Regions from separate parts of the Homo sapiens genome. Here all the other regions are linked to region 3. The links are contacts of gene promoters, found by promoter capture Hi-C in blood cells and fetal thymus (Javierre and others, 2016). All regions are on one chromosome and are shown on one strand. The core of a region is centred on a gene start or on the middle of the fragment in contact, and the rest is flanking DNA. Distances in the headings are between cores, read along the strand shown.

The links. The method cuts DNA at HindIII sites, captures the fragments that hold promoters and counts their contacts. A CHiCAGO score of 5 or more calls a contact.
Region 1: a contact is called between the fragment with the promoter of CPEB4 here and the fragment with the promoter of NPM1 in region 3, in 1 of 17 cell types (naive CD8 T cells). The highest score is 5.7, in naive CD8 T cells.
Region 2: a contact is called between the fragment with the promoter of RARS1 here and the fragment with the promoter of NPM1 in region 3, in 1 of 17 cell types (total B cells). The highest score is 5.3, in total B cells.
Region 4: a contact is called between a fragment that was not itself captured here and the fragment with the promoter of NPM1 in region 3, in 1 of 17 cell types (non-activated CD4 T cells). The highest score is 5.1, in non-activated CD4 T cells.

Annotation. Positions count from the first base shown.
Region 1 is chr5:173,886,571-173,890,221 of GRCh38, forward strand. CPEB4 (cytoplasmic polyadenylation element binding protein 4) reads left to right here and starts at 1,779. Exons shown (of 10, transcript NM_030627.4): 1 at 1,779-3,651. The coding sequence starts at 3,164. RefSeq lists enhancers at 1,286-1,525, 3,550-3,651. The HindIII fragment of the contact is 9,803 bases long and covers 1-3,651 here.
Region 2 is chr5:168,484,198-168,487,969 of GRCh38, forward strand. RARS1 (arginyl-tRNA synthetase 1) reads left to right here and starts at 2,274. Exons shown (of 15, transcript NM_002887.4): 1 at 2,274-2,346. The coding sequence starts at 2,302. The HindIII fragment of the contact is 3,317 bases long and covers 233-3,549 here.
Region 3 is chr5:171,386,005-171,389,708 of GRCh38, forward strand. NPM1 (nucleophosmin 1) reads left to right here and starts at 1,845. Exons shown (of 11, transcript NM_002520.7): 1 at 1,845-2,002. The coding sequence starts at 1,945. MIR3912 (microRNA 3912) reads right to left here and starts at 756; the gene lies at 652-756. RefSeq lists silencers at 2,126-2,185, 2,506-2,565. The HindIII fragment of the contact is 7,200 bases long and covers 627-3,704 here.
Region 4 is chr5:173,923,460-173,927,444 of GRCh38, forward strand. The region is part of intron 2 of CPEB4 (cytoplasmic polyadenylation element binding protein 4); the gene reads left to right. Among named protein-coding and RNA genes, the nearest start is that of CPEB4, 37 kb to the left of the region's middle. The HindIII fragment of the contact is 638 bases long and covers 1,991-2,628 here.

The DNA of each region.
Region 1 (3,651 bases), core at 529-3,028, 2.5 Mb after region 3:
CCCAATCTCTATGCTCAAAGAATCCATAGTAGAGTTACAGAGACAAGACTCATGCTCATGGCACAATGAAAGAGAATAAAATCACCGATTGAAGGCCCTCAGGTGTTCTACACGGAAGTGATGGAGGATTGACAGACTGAGGCAGAAGTTGAGACCATTAGAGGAAGGCTATGGAAATGAAATGGAAGCCACCTTTGTTCATACTATTTTTCATTAATCTTGGTATCTTTTTTTTCCCTCTAGTTGTGCCAGTTACTTCTGGCTCTACCCTGATTTCTTTGTTCATTTTTCTTCCTGCTAAAGGAAAATACTCACTTATTTAACATATTTAAAGCTGTGCTGAGAGCAAAGCATTATCCTAAGCCCTGATGGTGGTCATAGCGTTGGGAATGTACAAAGATAAACAGGACATTAAAGCCCTTGAGTACCAAACATAATGAAAAGTCTGATATGTGAGCTCCAAACCAAATGGCAAAAGGAAGGAAATAATTAATTCAGACTTGGAAACAGGAGTGAGGGGTGGGGGGTGGGTGACGGGTGGAAGGGGTGGCAGTGGGTTGGGGGGCTGTCACTCAGGGAAGACTTCATTGTTGCTGGTTTGTTCATTCACGTTTTCAGGATTCATTCACTGATGTCTCCTATCTACAATGTCTGCTCCTGAAAGAGCCCACGGTCCAGCACAGGTCTGGAAGACATAAACCATCACAATATAGTGTGAGAAACAAGCACGAGAGGTACACAGGGCCGTGGACGCTTATAAGAGAGAATTCAGAAGATGCTGTTGGTGGCTTTTGAACTGATTCCTAGAAATAAATAGGAATTTACCAAAGGAGAAGAGTGGAAAGGACATGTAAAAAGGCATTGAGAGTGTGTTTGGAGGGGGAAGAGGCACTAAGATATACCACCCATTAGGTAGAAAGGCTTGAATACCAGACTAACAAGTTTGGCCTTTATCTTCGAAATAATGGGCAACCATAGAAGAAATCGGAGCATGTGAGGGTCAAGATAAAATTTTAGTTTTGGAATTTTCCCTCTGGTATTGCGTGTAAGGTGTACTAGATCGGGATGATACGGGGGCATAGCCACAGACGCCTCAGCTGCATCTCTGCACCTGGGAGACTGCACCAGATGCGAGCCTAGCAGAATGGGAGAGTGGGAGGTGCGGGTGAGCGAATGGAAGGTTAAGGGAGAGTCCCTCGTGAGGTCTACATTCTGGGCAAGGGCAAACGCAGTTCTAGGCACCGCACAGCTGCTGGCAAGACCCGCCTCCCCTTCCAGATCCCTCTGGGGCGGAGCTCGGGCCAGAGCACGTGATGCTTGGAGCACCACCTTTACTGTGGGCACCCTTCTCATTCATCCGCGGTTTCACGGGCCGCCACTTCGATCTCCAACACCTTGACCGTATGCCTTCGTGAGCGAGGAATCCGTTCTCCTTGACACGTCCCTATTGCTCCTCCTGCAAAGCCCAGTTAGGGAAGAGAAATATCAAAGGAGTCCCTTGCCCACACAAAAGATGGCGACCTGCTGCGCTCACTCTGGGTGGGGGAAGCGGGTTCCAGGCGCCGGGCCTCACTAGGCGAGGCGCAGACGGAAGAGGCGTCTCTGGAGGTAACTTTTCGACCTTCCTGGGAGTAGCTCTGAAGCGAGGGGGCGTGGCCTCGCCTGAGTTCTAACAGATGATTGGTCTTCCGGCAGGTAGGTGGGGAATGAGTGCTACCCCCACCCCTCCCTCTTCGAACCGGAAGTGTCTCTGGGTCTTTCCAGCTGGTTGTCATTTCACTCGGCTCGGTCCTGAGGAGAAGGACTCAGCCGCGGCTGCGGGACCCGGGCACCGGGAGGCGGTGGCGGCGGCGGCGGCGGCAGCAGCGGCGACAGCAGAGGAGGAAGAGGAGGAAGAAGGAAAGAAAAAGAAGAACCAGGAGGAGTCCTCAACAACGACAGCGGGGACTGCGGGACCAGGGTAAAGCGGCGACGGCGGCGACGGCCCAGCAACCGTGAGGAGAAACAAAAGCCTTCTAAATTATAGTTTAAAAAAAAATTCTGGGGGAAAAGAGAGAGAAAGCCGAGGGGGGAGGCCCTTCTCCTTTAAAATAACTACGGTAGTGGGTTTTTCCTTTTTTTCCTCTTTTTTCCCTCTCTGCGGAGAATCGAACTGAGGGAACTGAACAAACCGCCCCTGGGTCCCATGAGGGAAAAAAACCCCGGAGCCGCAGAGAGGGGAAGAGGCAGAAACCGCAGGACCTTCCAGGTCGCCCCCTCGGTCCCCGCACCCCCAGGCCGCCCGCTCACCCTCGTCGAGTCTCGCTAATCCCTCCTGATCGCGACCCCCGCAAGAGGGAGAAACGGGTGTTTCCAACCCCTTTCATGGGGGAGAGGAAGCCGCGGGGAGCCCAGGAACAGCGACCGCAGCAAGATCTGCACCCGGAGCCTCAGGAACAGCCCCAGAGGCCAAAACTGCACCCTGCGAAAGAGCAGAAAACAGGACCAGGAACAGCAGAAACCTCCCTGCAATCATCTTTCCATTAGTCAATGCTGATTTCCTCTCCCGAAACCAGGAATTCACTTCCCACCCCAGATAACCTAATATAATCTATATATATAAATATATAATATATAATGTTCTTAAATTATTCCTGATTTTTTTTTAACCAAGCTGCCAAGAAAAGAACGTATTCCCCTCTTAGTCCTATTCTAATTTTTATGTGAGTGAATCTAAACTGCTGAGGAAAACCATATGTGATTGTTAAATTATATATATCTATATTTTTACTCCGCGCAAGGCTTATTCTTCTACATCCATAGATGCTTGAGAAGCTCTGTTTTTGTCATTCATGTACATTTTCCTTTGGAAAAAGAAAGCGCCTATTTTACTAACCAAAGACTTGATTTTTACCCTCTTCATTTTTATTCCCTCCTAAAAATAAGCCCAATTGGATCCAAGTCAATGTTTTAAGAGATTTTTTTAAGAGTTGTTTTTTCTTTCAGAGACCAGAATTCCAAATCAGAACAATTTAAGGTGATAAGCTGCGATCTTTGAGCTAGCTATAAATAAGACATTTCAAGCAAGCAAGCAAACAACTTAAATTTGGGGTAGAGGAAAAAAAAGGCGTGAGACATCAGGTTGTCATTTTTTATTGTGAGATTCTGCTCCTAAAGATAATAAATGGGGGATTACGGGTTTGGAGTGCTAGTGCAAAGCAATACTGGGAATAAATCTGCTTTTCCAGTCAGATTCCATCCACATCTGCAGCCTCCACACCATCACCAAAATGCCACCCCCAGCCCTGCTGCTTTTATAAATAATAACACAGCTGCCAATGGCAGCAGTGCTGGGTCAGCTTGGCTTTTTCCTGCTCCAGCTACCCATAACATTCAGGATGAGATCTTGGGGTCAGAAAAAGCAAAAAGTCAGCAACAGGAACAGCAAGACCCCTTAGAAAAGCAGCAGCTTTCCCCAAGTCCAGGTCAGGAAGCTGGAATACTGCCTGAAACAGAGAAGGCAAAATCAGAAGAAAATCAAGGGGACAATTCTTCGGAAAATGGCAATGGGAAGGAGAAAATAAGGATCGAATCTCCAGTGTTGACAGGGTTTGATTATCAAGAAGCCACTGGGCTAGGTACTTCAACCCAACCCTTGACATCTAGCGCATC
Region 2 (3,772 bases), core at 1,024-3,523, 2.9 Mb before region 3:
CTTATTAGCCCTCTGAATTACTGGATTGAAAAAACATAGTATATATATAGGGCTTGGTACTATTCACGGTTTCAGGCATCCACTGAGGGGTGTTGCAATGTATCTCCCACGGATAAGGAAGGACTGGTATATTAACACTTTTATTTGATTTACAAAATAAAGGATAGTTTATATAGTTCTGGGTAAAATTAATTAATTAATTTAAAAGGAAAAAAGATAAAGGCAAACTTTAAGCTTGTTAAAAATTAAGTAAAATAATTTGGATTATTTAATTGGACAAAGAGGACTGGCTTTGCCAATGAAACAATATGGCCGACATGTTCCATAAATTGGACAAGCTAAACTTGCAAATCCACAGTTTTGACGAAAATATAGTGAGAGCACTTATGAAACATCATGCCAGAAAATAATCCATTCCCAGAAGTTGTGAAAAGAGTTTTTAGATGTCTTTTTTTTTTTTTTTTTTTTTTTTTTGAGACAGAGTCTCACTCCGTTGCCCAGGCTGGAGTGCAGTGGCCAGATCATGGCTCACTGCAACCTCAAACTCTTGGGTTTAAACAATCCTGCCTCCTAAGTCTCCTATATAGCTGGGACTACAGGTGCACACCACCATGCCTGGCTAATGTTTTGTATTTTTGGTAGAGACGATGTTTCACCATTTTTTCCAGGCTGGTCTTGGACTCCTGGGCTCAAGAAATCTGCCTGCCTCAGCCTCCCAAAGTGCTAGGATTACAGACATGAGCCACTGTGCCTAGCTCGATGTCAACTTTTAAAAGTATACACTGGGATATGAATTTTTAAAATACTTTTATGAGGCACGGAAGCGAAAACGTTTAGAGTGCTACTTTCTAAGTTCTGGAGTCATAGAGAAGAGTGAACAAGATAATTAAGGTCCCTGCCCTCTTAGAACATATATCCCAGGTTTGCTGTTTATAATTTTAACTCAATATATATACAATGAAATATTATTCAGCCTTATAAAAGAAAACCCTGTTATGGGTGACAACATAGATGAACCTGGAGAACATTATGTTGGTGCAATAAGCCGGGCACAGAAAGACAAATACTACATTAGCCCATGTATATGTGTAATCTAAAAAATTCAGATTCATAGAAGCAGAGCATAGAATGGTGGTTGTCAGGGCTTCAGAGGTAGGAAAGATGGGAGATGTTGCTCAAAGTTACAAAGTTTCAGTTAGGCGGGATGAATAGATTCTAGAGATGTAATGTATATTGTATACTTGCAGTTTTCGTTTTCGTTTCGTTTTGTTTGTTTTTAAATAGAGAGAGAAAAGGTCTCACTCTGTCATCCAGGCAGAGTACAGTGGCATGATCATGGCTCACCGCAGCCTCAAATTCTTGGGCTCAAGTGATCCTCCCACCTCAGCCTCCTATATACCAGGGACTACAGGCACATGCCACCATGCCCGGCTATTTTTCCATTTTTTTGTAGAGACGAGGTCTTAGCTGTTTCCCAGGATGAGAATAGATCTTAAATGTTCACAGCACACACGCGCGCGCGCGCGCGCGCACACACACACACACACACACATGCAAATGATAACTGTATGAGATGAAGGTTATGTTAATTATTTTGGTTGTGGTAATCATTTCAGAATGTATACATATATCAAAACATTACGTTGTACATCGTTATGATATACAATCTTTGTCAATTATACCTCAATAAAACTGGAAAAATAAATAAGATTTTAACTCAAATGTCACTTGCTTAGAGATGTCTTCTCTCACCCAAGTCACTCTATCACATTGCCTTCCTAGCAATTAAAACTACCTGAGATTATTGCCTTTTTTGGTCTATTTTCTCTCTCCATTCTAAAATGTGTCTGCCGTGAGAGGGGAGATCGTGTCTGTTTTGTTTTCTTTGTGCCCCCAGAGCCTAGAATACTGTCTGGCATTTTAAAGTACACAATAAATGTTTGTTGAATAAATGAATGGATTTGTTAGTTTTGTGCCCATTTCACAAAGGGGCAAAGTGAGGCCTTTGAGAGCCAGAAGCTCTAGGTCAGTGACTGTCCTAGTCTATCCAAGCACAGAGCAGCTCTGGTTAGTGTCTGCTCAATTCCTCTCCCCTCGCCCAAACGTCCCTGAGTTGCGGCCTCGCTCCTGACCGAAATCCCCGCGGGTTCTCCTCGCAGTGTCTACTGGATCCCGCCAGGAGGCAGCAGAGGCGCCAGCACCCAGTCCGACGGGACAGCGGACCGGAGGGGGTTTCCGCTTCCGGGAGAGGCTGACCGTTTCCGCTTCCGTCCACTTGGCGAGTGAGACGCTGATGGGAGGATGGACGTACTGGTGTCTGAGTGCTCCGCGCGGCTGCTGCAGCAGGTTTGGACGCAGGAGACCGGCGGGAAGGCCTGAAAGAGATGGAGCAGGCTCTGACTCCTGCCCAAGCGGCTTCGGGGGCGGGACAGCTAGGCGAGGACCATCCTGGTCCTCTCAGAGTGGAGCGGCACGGTCCCTGTGGGAACAGGAAGGGTTGAGAGAGGAAGCACCCATCATTTCAAAGCCCGTGTGACTGTGATTTTCAGCGGAATGGAGGGTCCCCACCCTCTCCCAGGCCTCCCCCAAACCAGCGTCTTCGGTGGGCTGGAGCCTGGCATGTTCAGAACAGTTCTCTCCCTACAATCCACCTCCTCTTCTGCATACACACGCGATTTAGGGGATGCGGGGAGATAGACAAGGGGGGAATACATTCAGAGCTCTGGGTCTTGGTTTGCAGCTCAGCCGCAGTTCTTCCCGGGTTACTGAGCGAGAGGATTCCTAATAAGCCCATGGGGTGATTCATTATCAGACCAGCGGAGCTTGCTCTGTGCCCTCAGCATTCGTCGGGAAGGAGCAGCCACACCATATAAAAGTGAAAGCGGCCGGGCGCGGTGGCTCATGCCTGTAATCCCAGCACTTTGGGAGGCCGAGGTGGGCGGATCACGATGTCAGGAGATCGAGACCATCCTGGCTAACACAGTGAAACTCCGTCTCTACTGAAAATACAAAAAAACTTAACCGGCTGTGTTGGGGGGGGTCCCTGTATTCCTAGCTACTCGGGAGGCTGAGGCAGGAGAATGGCGTGAACCCGGGAGGCGGAGCTTGCAGTGAGCAGAGAGCACACCACTGCACCACAGCCTGGGCGACAGAGTGAGACTCCGTCCCCCTACAAAAAAAAAAAGTGAAAGCGGAACAGTTCCATTACCTTTTATGCCCAGGTGGGGAGGGATGGTAGGAAGATAGTTCACAGTACTCTGTCCTGTTACGGCTGTATACTTAATCAGCAGTCACAAAGTACAAGTTAGTCAAGTAAATTGGCAAGCTCTTTACATTTCTGAGCCATTTATTTATCGGTATGTATTTATCTTTGCCTCACTTGGTTGTGATAATCATGAAGGTAATTTCTGAAAAGTGTTTTTAGCTCAGCTCCTGGAACATAATGTATGCTCATTTTTGGCAATTTGGTTTTGGCTGTAGCTATCTCCCAGTAAGTATTCTGAAATTTCAGGTGAGGAACTCCCCCTGAGTTTTGCAGTTTAAGTTGGAAGCTTTATTTCTTTCTGAATTGACATGTCTTTAGTTTTAGATGTTAAACTACAAAGCCTGGTCTGGTCTAGTCTAGGACCTAAGACACTGGAAACAGGAAGAAATGGGAAAATTGTTTAGTCCCAGAAAGGGTGAAAGGCAGACCCTTGAGCTATTTTGAATGTGACAAAGGACATTTGGGTTTTTTAAGAGTCCCAGGTCATAGGATTTGGGAATAAAAGCA
Region 3 (3,704 bases), core at 595-3,094:
CTGCACTCCAGCCTGTATGACAGAGCGGGACTTCGGTTTCAAAAAAAAAAAAAATTAAAATAAAAAATAAAACAGTGGCCGGGTGTGGTGACTCACGCCTGTAATCCCAGCACTTTGGGAGGCCAACATGGCGAAACCCTGTTTCTACTAAATATACAACAATTAGCTGGACGCGGTGGCAGGCACCTGTAATCCCAGCTACTTGGGAGGCTGAGGCACGAGAATTGCTGGAACTCAAGAGGCAGAACTCGTGAGTCAGAGATCTTGCCACTGCACTGCAGCCTGGGCAAGAGAGCGAGACCCCGTTTAAAAAAAAAAAAAATGCTGGCTGGGTGCGGTGGCTCACGCCTGAAATCCCAGCACTTTGGAAGGCAGAGACAGGCGGATCACCCGAGGTCAGGAGTTTGAGCCCAGCCTGGAGAACACAGCGAAACCCCATCCCTCCTAAAATACAAAAATTAGTCGGGCGTGGTGGCATGCACCTGTAGTCCTCGCTACTCGGGAGCCCGGGAGGCGGAGGTTGCATCCAGCGGAGATCACGCCACTGCACTCCAGCCTGGACAACACAGCGAGACTCTGTCTCCACACACACACAAAAAAAGGCATAACAAATTTAAGTGACTCAAAGCTTTATGTGACACAGGAGCTCTCAGAAAGGAACAGTTAAATTATAACATGTCCATATTATGCGTTAGTATGTGTCCACAACTAACCCATAATATGGACATGTTATAATTTAACTGTTCATTCCTCTCTTGATAGACACTGAAATCGTCTCTATAATTTTCCTGTAAGAAATAATGCCTTGGGGTGGGGGTGTCTTCCTTTCTGAGGCTATCATTTGTATTCCTCACTTCTTAAATTTGTTTGATATGTTGAGGCTTAAAAAAAAAAGATTACGGGTCTTCAGAACGCCCCAATGCCCGCGGGGTGCTGGGGTGCCTCGGAGTTTGTCAAGGTGTAGCTTAAAACGTTAATTCCCATGCTCGCTCCCAAATATTCGAATTAAGGCTTCTGTAGTTCTTACAAGTCACCCGCTTTCTTTCAGGAGGAATGTTAAAGATTAAGAGCGGCAAGAAGTCAGAGTCGGCCCACCCTCCGAGCTCTCTTAGGGCGATGTCCTTGCTAATTTGGAGACTGATTCAGTCCCCTTTTGGCCCCCAAGTTACGTAAAGATAAGGACTTTGGAGATGTTTTCTCAGGAAGGACAGAGCTGAAAAACAAAGTTCCGTAAGTCTGGCCGGTAACTACATCTTTCCTTCCTAACAAAGAATAAGCCGCAATTCACTCTCTCTGGCACCTGAACTTTGGGGTAACGATTAACTGCGATCCGAAGCCTTCAGGCAAGTAAAAAATTCCTGAAGTGATTACGCCTGTTTGGAGGCTTGCAGGGCACTAGGGGATGGGGAAAGGTGAATCGAGGTGCTCTCTGGCTCATTCGCAGCCGGCTAACCCGCCATATCTTACACAGCTAAGGGCTGCCGACGCCATTTTGCAGGGTGGGCTGCGCAGACTCTTGGCGGGAGGCCGGCGCGCTTGAGCGGGAGAGGACGTGGAAGGGTTGGAGGTGGGGAGTGCGCGTTACGACTGGAAAGCACGCGTGCGCACAGGCGACAGCAGCGGAGGGGTGGGGCCAGTGTACGAGTGCGCGTGCTCGGTGGGAGCCCGCGGAGTACCTGGAAGGAGGTGGGGGCGAGGTAGAAAGGAGTGGGGTTGAAAAGCGCTTGCGCAGGACGGCTACGGTACGGGGGTGGGAGGGCTTCGGAGCACGCGCGCGGAGGCGGGACTTGGGAAGCGCTCGCGAGATCTTCAGGGTCTATATATAAGCGCGGGGAGCCTGCGTCCTTTCCCTGGTGTGATTCCGTCCTGCGCGGTTGTTCTCTGGAGCAGCGTTCTTTTATCTCCGTCCGCCTTCTCTCCTACCTAAGTGCGTGCCGCCACCCGATGGAAGATTCGATGGACATGGACATGAGCCCCCTGAGGCCCCAGAACTATCTTTTCGGTAACTGCTGGGGGGAGCTGGAGCGAGGCCGAGCGGGGCCTGGTGGCGGTGAGGGTGGGGGTGAGGGGCGGGAATCCGGCTGCAACCGGGTCTGGTGGAGACCGCCAGACCGACGGGAGGCCTGAGCGGGTGGGAAGAGCTGCCTGAGCCCTGGACCTGGAGGGATTGGAGCCGCGGGGGGAGCCGGTGGCGTGAAGGGGGAGGAGACGAGCGGCCTGAAGCGTCTGGGGCGTGAGCGGTCCGAGGCCCGGGGCCTGAGGTAAAGTGGAACCGGCCGCCTGGAAGTTCGGCCTTTGCCGGGGATACGTGGCGGAGCTCCAGGCGTGGTTTATTTTCTAACGGCGGTGGTTCATAGGCTTCTGATGCCAGGCCCCGGGTTGGTGGTCCTGGAGGCTGGGTTCACCGGGAAGCATGGGCCTGCTTGTTGGAGCGGGTAGATGCACAGCCTGGCGTTATTCTGGCCTCAGAGCCTGGAGCTGCCGGACGTAGACTTACCTCGCGTGCTTCGGCCAGTTACTGGGGGTGGGGAGGCGCGGCGCGGCGTGAGGAGGCCGCAACCGCTGGGAGCACGTGGTTGCCACGTGGTTGGGGGAGGGAGGGGGGTGTGGGCGCTACATCCGGGACTCACCGGCGTGTTGCCACTCGTGAGCCAGGGATGCTGTGGCTCTGTTGAAGTGGGAAATGTTAAGAGGCTGGTAGCACTAGGGTTCTGGAGGTCTTTGTTCAGTGCTTACAGCATGTACTGTGATGGCAGCTCTCATTTTTTTGAGCCCCTTTTCTGTCTCACTGCGGTAGGTGGAGCTAGCCCCACTTTGCAGATGAGGATACTGGTGCCCAGAGATAAACTCACTTAACGAAGGTTGTACTTAGTAAAGGCAATAAGAGACTAAATCTAAACCAAGACGCTTGACTCCGTAGCTGCTGCTTCGTGAATATTAATGAGGCTTCGTTTTAGGGGGACGTCCTCGCATGCCGCCATTTGTGCGGCATTGACCAAACTGCTTTTCTAAATACAAGAAACACGTAGAGTGTTCGGTTTGAGTCAGATCAAGACCTAAGACTATTCGCAGAATTTTGGGAGCACCACCCCCCTCGACTTGCGGTAGTCCTGCCCCAAAAAGGAGAGTCCCACTTGGGTTTTTGATCTCAGTAGGATTAATTGCAGAAGCCTAATCTTTGTACTATTCAGACTTTGAAGTAAATGCAAATCCTACCGTGAATTTTATCTTGTTCATTATCCGTGCTGAGATTTGTTAATTAAACGTCTGTTCACATTTAAGCATGTATATGTATTGGTAACGGTTAGATGATAGTTAAATGGAATCATTTAAAATTTTTATTCTGACAGTGTTTTGAAGAATTTTGCCCATTCATGGAGTGAGAGTAGACATATGTATTCAAAACATTAAGGCTTTAATTCCTAGTTATTTTGGATAGCTGAGAATTCTGGTAAATTTATATCAGTACTTTTTGATAACTATCGGAAAGAACCCTCCTTGTCTTAAACATAATTTCTGAATATAGTTTGAGGCGTATGTCACTTTCTGTTGCTTTAAAGAGTGGAGTGTTGATCCCTGTAGCAAACTTCGGTTCTTTTACTTTTGTCATTTTTCTTTTGTAATAGTAAGCTATTCATGTTTGTAACCGTTCTCATTTCGAAATTGCCATTTGGGAATTTAGGTAGGTAAATCAGCTGTTTTAA
Region 4 (3,985 bases), core at 1,060-3,559, 2.5 Mb after region 3:
TTTTTTATGTTCATGTCAGCACAGAGAGCCATTTGTCAAAATTATTTTCACCTTGGGGCCAGTTCTTTATTCATTGGTTCTTTTAATATATGTCTCTTGTAACACATGCTTCTTTTAAGCAAACTTTTTGCAAGGTAGGAGAATTTTAATTTACTGCCTTGGCTTTTTTTCTGGATTGCTTTAATTTTTTCTACTACTTGGTCTGTTTTTCCACTTTTCTTTCCATTATATTTTTTTCACCTTTTTTTTTCCAACTGACTTTGGCTGGCTTAGCTTGGACAAAAACTACACCTAGTTTTGCCGAGTTTTTTAGAGCTTAAAAAATTGCCATTAATCTCTGGTATCATAACATCCTCTTAAGGCAAGTTATCTTGTTGCTCTGTCCTCTAAATGTAGCATCTAGAGTCAGAAGGCTTCTGGCAAGGATAAAAATAGCCTTCCTGCTTGCTGGTTTGTTGTTAGCTTTACTGGCAGTAGGAAATCTTTTGAATTCCTTAATTGGGTCAGCTTCTTACTAGTTTCTCTCTGGACATTCCCTTCTGCCTGAAATTCTTAGATGCTTTTAGATCTTGCAGCTTCGCACCTGCCCCGAGTTGTAGTCAAAGCAGTCCTTCCCTTCTATGAAACCTTCCTCCATCTGTAGAAACATATTCCATTGACCTCTCCCATCTTACAGATAAGTGTTATTTTCTTTTGCCACTACTACAATCTGTTTTTCAATCATCATATTACAATTGAAACATTAAATTTGGGGTTTTGGTTCAAAATGAAGATCCTCTCTGGTTTTATTGAAAAGAAAAATTTTAGGTTGAATTTTTGAAGTTTTCATTAAAATTATTATGTATCTTTGCCAGTTTGGCTTTGATGAAAGTAAGGGGTTAGGTTTTGTTCTTTTCTCTCTTCCTGAGAAGACTTATATCCCTGTTTTTAACCAAGGACACTAGCAAATTCTCATTTTTCTGAAGCTGAAATATCCCCCAGATTTGCCCCTCCCTTTTCCAAGGTTCCAGTTTGGAACTTTTTGGCCAAAATAAATCCTACTTGTCCTTTCTCTTACAAGTGGAAAATTGTTGGTTATCTTCGGCTTATTACTGGGGAAGGGAAAGGAATTAATTTTGTTAAGTACCTACTGCATATTGAGGGATTTTTTTTGGCATTCTGCAAACATTATCTCAAGACTGTCTCACAACAGCTCTGTGAAGTCAATGGAATTATCTCTGTTTTCCTGAGGTTCAGCAAAGCTAAATAATTTGACTTAGGTCACAAGATGATACCGGCTTGACTCTACCCATTACACTGCATCTTCCATGGCAGAGAGATCATCAACTGCTGACTTTGCTTCATTCATTTTCCACAGTTGTTTATTGAGCACCTTTCTCTGCTCCAGGCTCTGGGGTAGCACACCCAAAATCCATAAAGATCTCATTGCCCTACAGCAAGAGATTAAAACAAGTAATGTAAATATGGTGTAATAAGTGTAAAGAATACTGGAAGGAGTACAGAGGGTTATCTGAATCAAAGCAAGGATGATGTGGGGCAGGGAAGGCTTCTCATAAGATGTGAGGCCTAGCAGGGGAACTGCTGGGACAAAAGTGTGGAGGCTTGAGTGGTAAGACATTGAGGGGCAGAGAGAGAGAGGAGGGCCTTCTAGGTAGAGGGAGTTACCCAGAAGTTGAAGTTATGGGCCAGCAGTTCTGAATGGCTGGAGTGCCTGATGTGGGAAGGGAAATGGCAGTGTGGAGAGTTAGGAAAGCCATTAATTCAAAGATTTTTGTAAGTACTGGCTTTTGAGCTGAAAGCCAAATTTGTAGCAGAGAAGGGTTTTGTTTAGCCTAAACTCTGTGTGTTTAGTGAATTTTAAGTGGCTCTTTGGGAGGGGACAAGACTCTTCAGCTGATATCTGTCTCAGCCAGTTCCTTCTTTGTGATTTTGCATGGGAATGTCTTTGTTGGAAGTTGGTTGTAGCACAGATAGATAAGGGGGTAGAATAAGCTTACTGATTTTGATTTGGGGAGTTATTTTTGTGTCAATACACTAAATTATTAAAAATTAAATTTATACCATTAAATTATAGAACATATTGAATGCTGTTTTGTTCATATTGCTATGTCTTCTGCATTTGTGTAAGTATATAAAGTTGGCATTCAAAACCAGTGGATTTATTACACATTTCTTGAGCTTTGCTGTCCGATGTCCAGGTCCCCACAGCGCCATCTTGCTGCAAGTCTCAAGTGGAGTTTGTAAAAACAGAAGATGTGCAGGGGTAGGAGGACTACCTCCTTTAAAATATTACTTATGACGGTATAGTTTTGATTTACTTAGATGTGAGCTAAACAAAATTAGCAGGAGCAGAGGTAGGAGCAGCACTTCTAGTTAGGCAATCAACAACTGCAAATGTATGTGTATGTATATATTTGTGTGCATTAGAAATTTTTAATGGTGCTCACTGAAGACTCCTCTGCAAACACCCTGCTTTTCTTTGGAGTATCCACATTTTTATAGGGTGAATCAATCAAAAGTTGATCCTTAAAAATTTTATGCTACTTGTCACTTTAGAGTTATTCCCTATTATCATTCCTTGGCCTGCACCATGTTGTCAACATTGTTGGCATGACTGTGAAAAAGAAAAGCTTATAGATAGCGTGAAATCTAATTGTGCTGCAGATACATTTGATACTTTTTGGTGTTTGTGTGTTTGAAATGGCAGCATTTATTTTTATTATTTCCTGTTGAATTATCAGTAGTAGTAATATCTGGATTATTCTTTAGAAAATAACTTATTTTACCTAATTAATGAAAGTAATACTTATATATACTGCTAATGTAAAGGAGGATTTCCTCTGGTCTTTTCTCCTTTTATTTTTTGACTTGGTTACTTTAGTTAGTGTCTTAAAAGGATATGATAGTACATACTGTTCTTTTTAGCACCTCCTGCCCCCACCTATTCTAAGTCAGTCTGTTGGTAAATATTGGTTCTTCCAACTGGCAAATGCTTAGCATAGAATTGCCTAGTTGACGTATGGATCTTTTCTAGGTTGTAGGATTTGGTAGTGTAGATCCCCAGAGTCACACTGTATCTGTTGCCTATATTTGGCTAGGTTGAGTCATGTCACCAAATATAGCCTATGCCTTCGGCATGATGTATGCCAGGCTTCTGGTTCCAAATTCTGCAGCTGGCCTCCAGAGACTACTGCTTTTCCTGTCATAATGTTCCTTAAGATTAGGGCTGCTGACCAGGCAGTATTTTTTATATTTATAACAAAATCAATACCAAGAGCCTTCAAAGATTGAATTTTGCTCATCAAATAGGTTCACATGCTGAAATCCTAATGCCTTCCTTCTCCCTTTAGAAATTAAATTCTGAATGTGCCCAAACCTGGATAATGATTAAAGATAGATGAGTTCTTGGCTGGGCACCGTGGCTCATGCCTGTAATCCCAGCACTGTGGGAGGCTGAGGTGGAGGCATCACCTGAGGTCAGGAGTTCGAGATCAGCCTGGCCAACATGGTGAAACTCTGTCTCTACAAAAATACAAAAAAAATTACCCGCGCATGATGGCGGGTGCCAGTAATCCCAGCTACTCGGGAGGCTGAGGTGGGAGAATCACTTGAACCTGGGAGGCGGAGGTTGCAGTGAGCCAAGATCGTGCCATTGCACTCCAGCCTGGGAGACAGAGCGAGACTCTGTCTGAAAAAATAAAATAAAAAAGATGAGTTCTCAAAAACCCAACCAGACAAAACAGCAGGCAGGTACTGGGTTATATTAATATTCAGACATCTCAATTTTTATTTTATTATACTTTACTTATGAAATACTGGTGTTTTGAGTTCAGTGGAATGAACTCATCAAATGCTCACCTGGTACCCAAACAGGACACTCAAGATGCCTAGGTATTAAAAGCTCTAATTCCGAAGGGGGCTTTAATGTAAAAGAGGTAAGAAGGTTAGCCAGAAGCTGAAATGATTAGGTAAGAAAGTTAGTTGT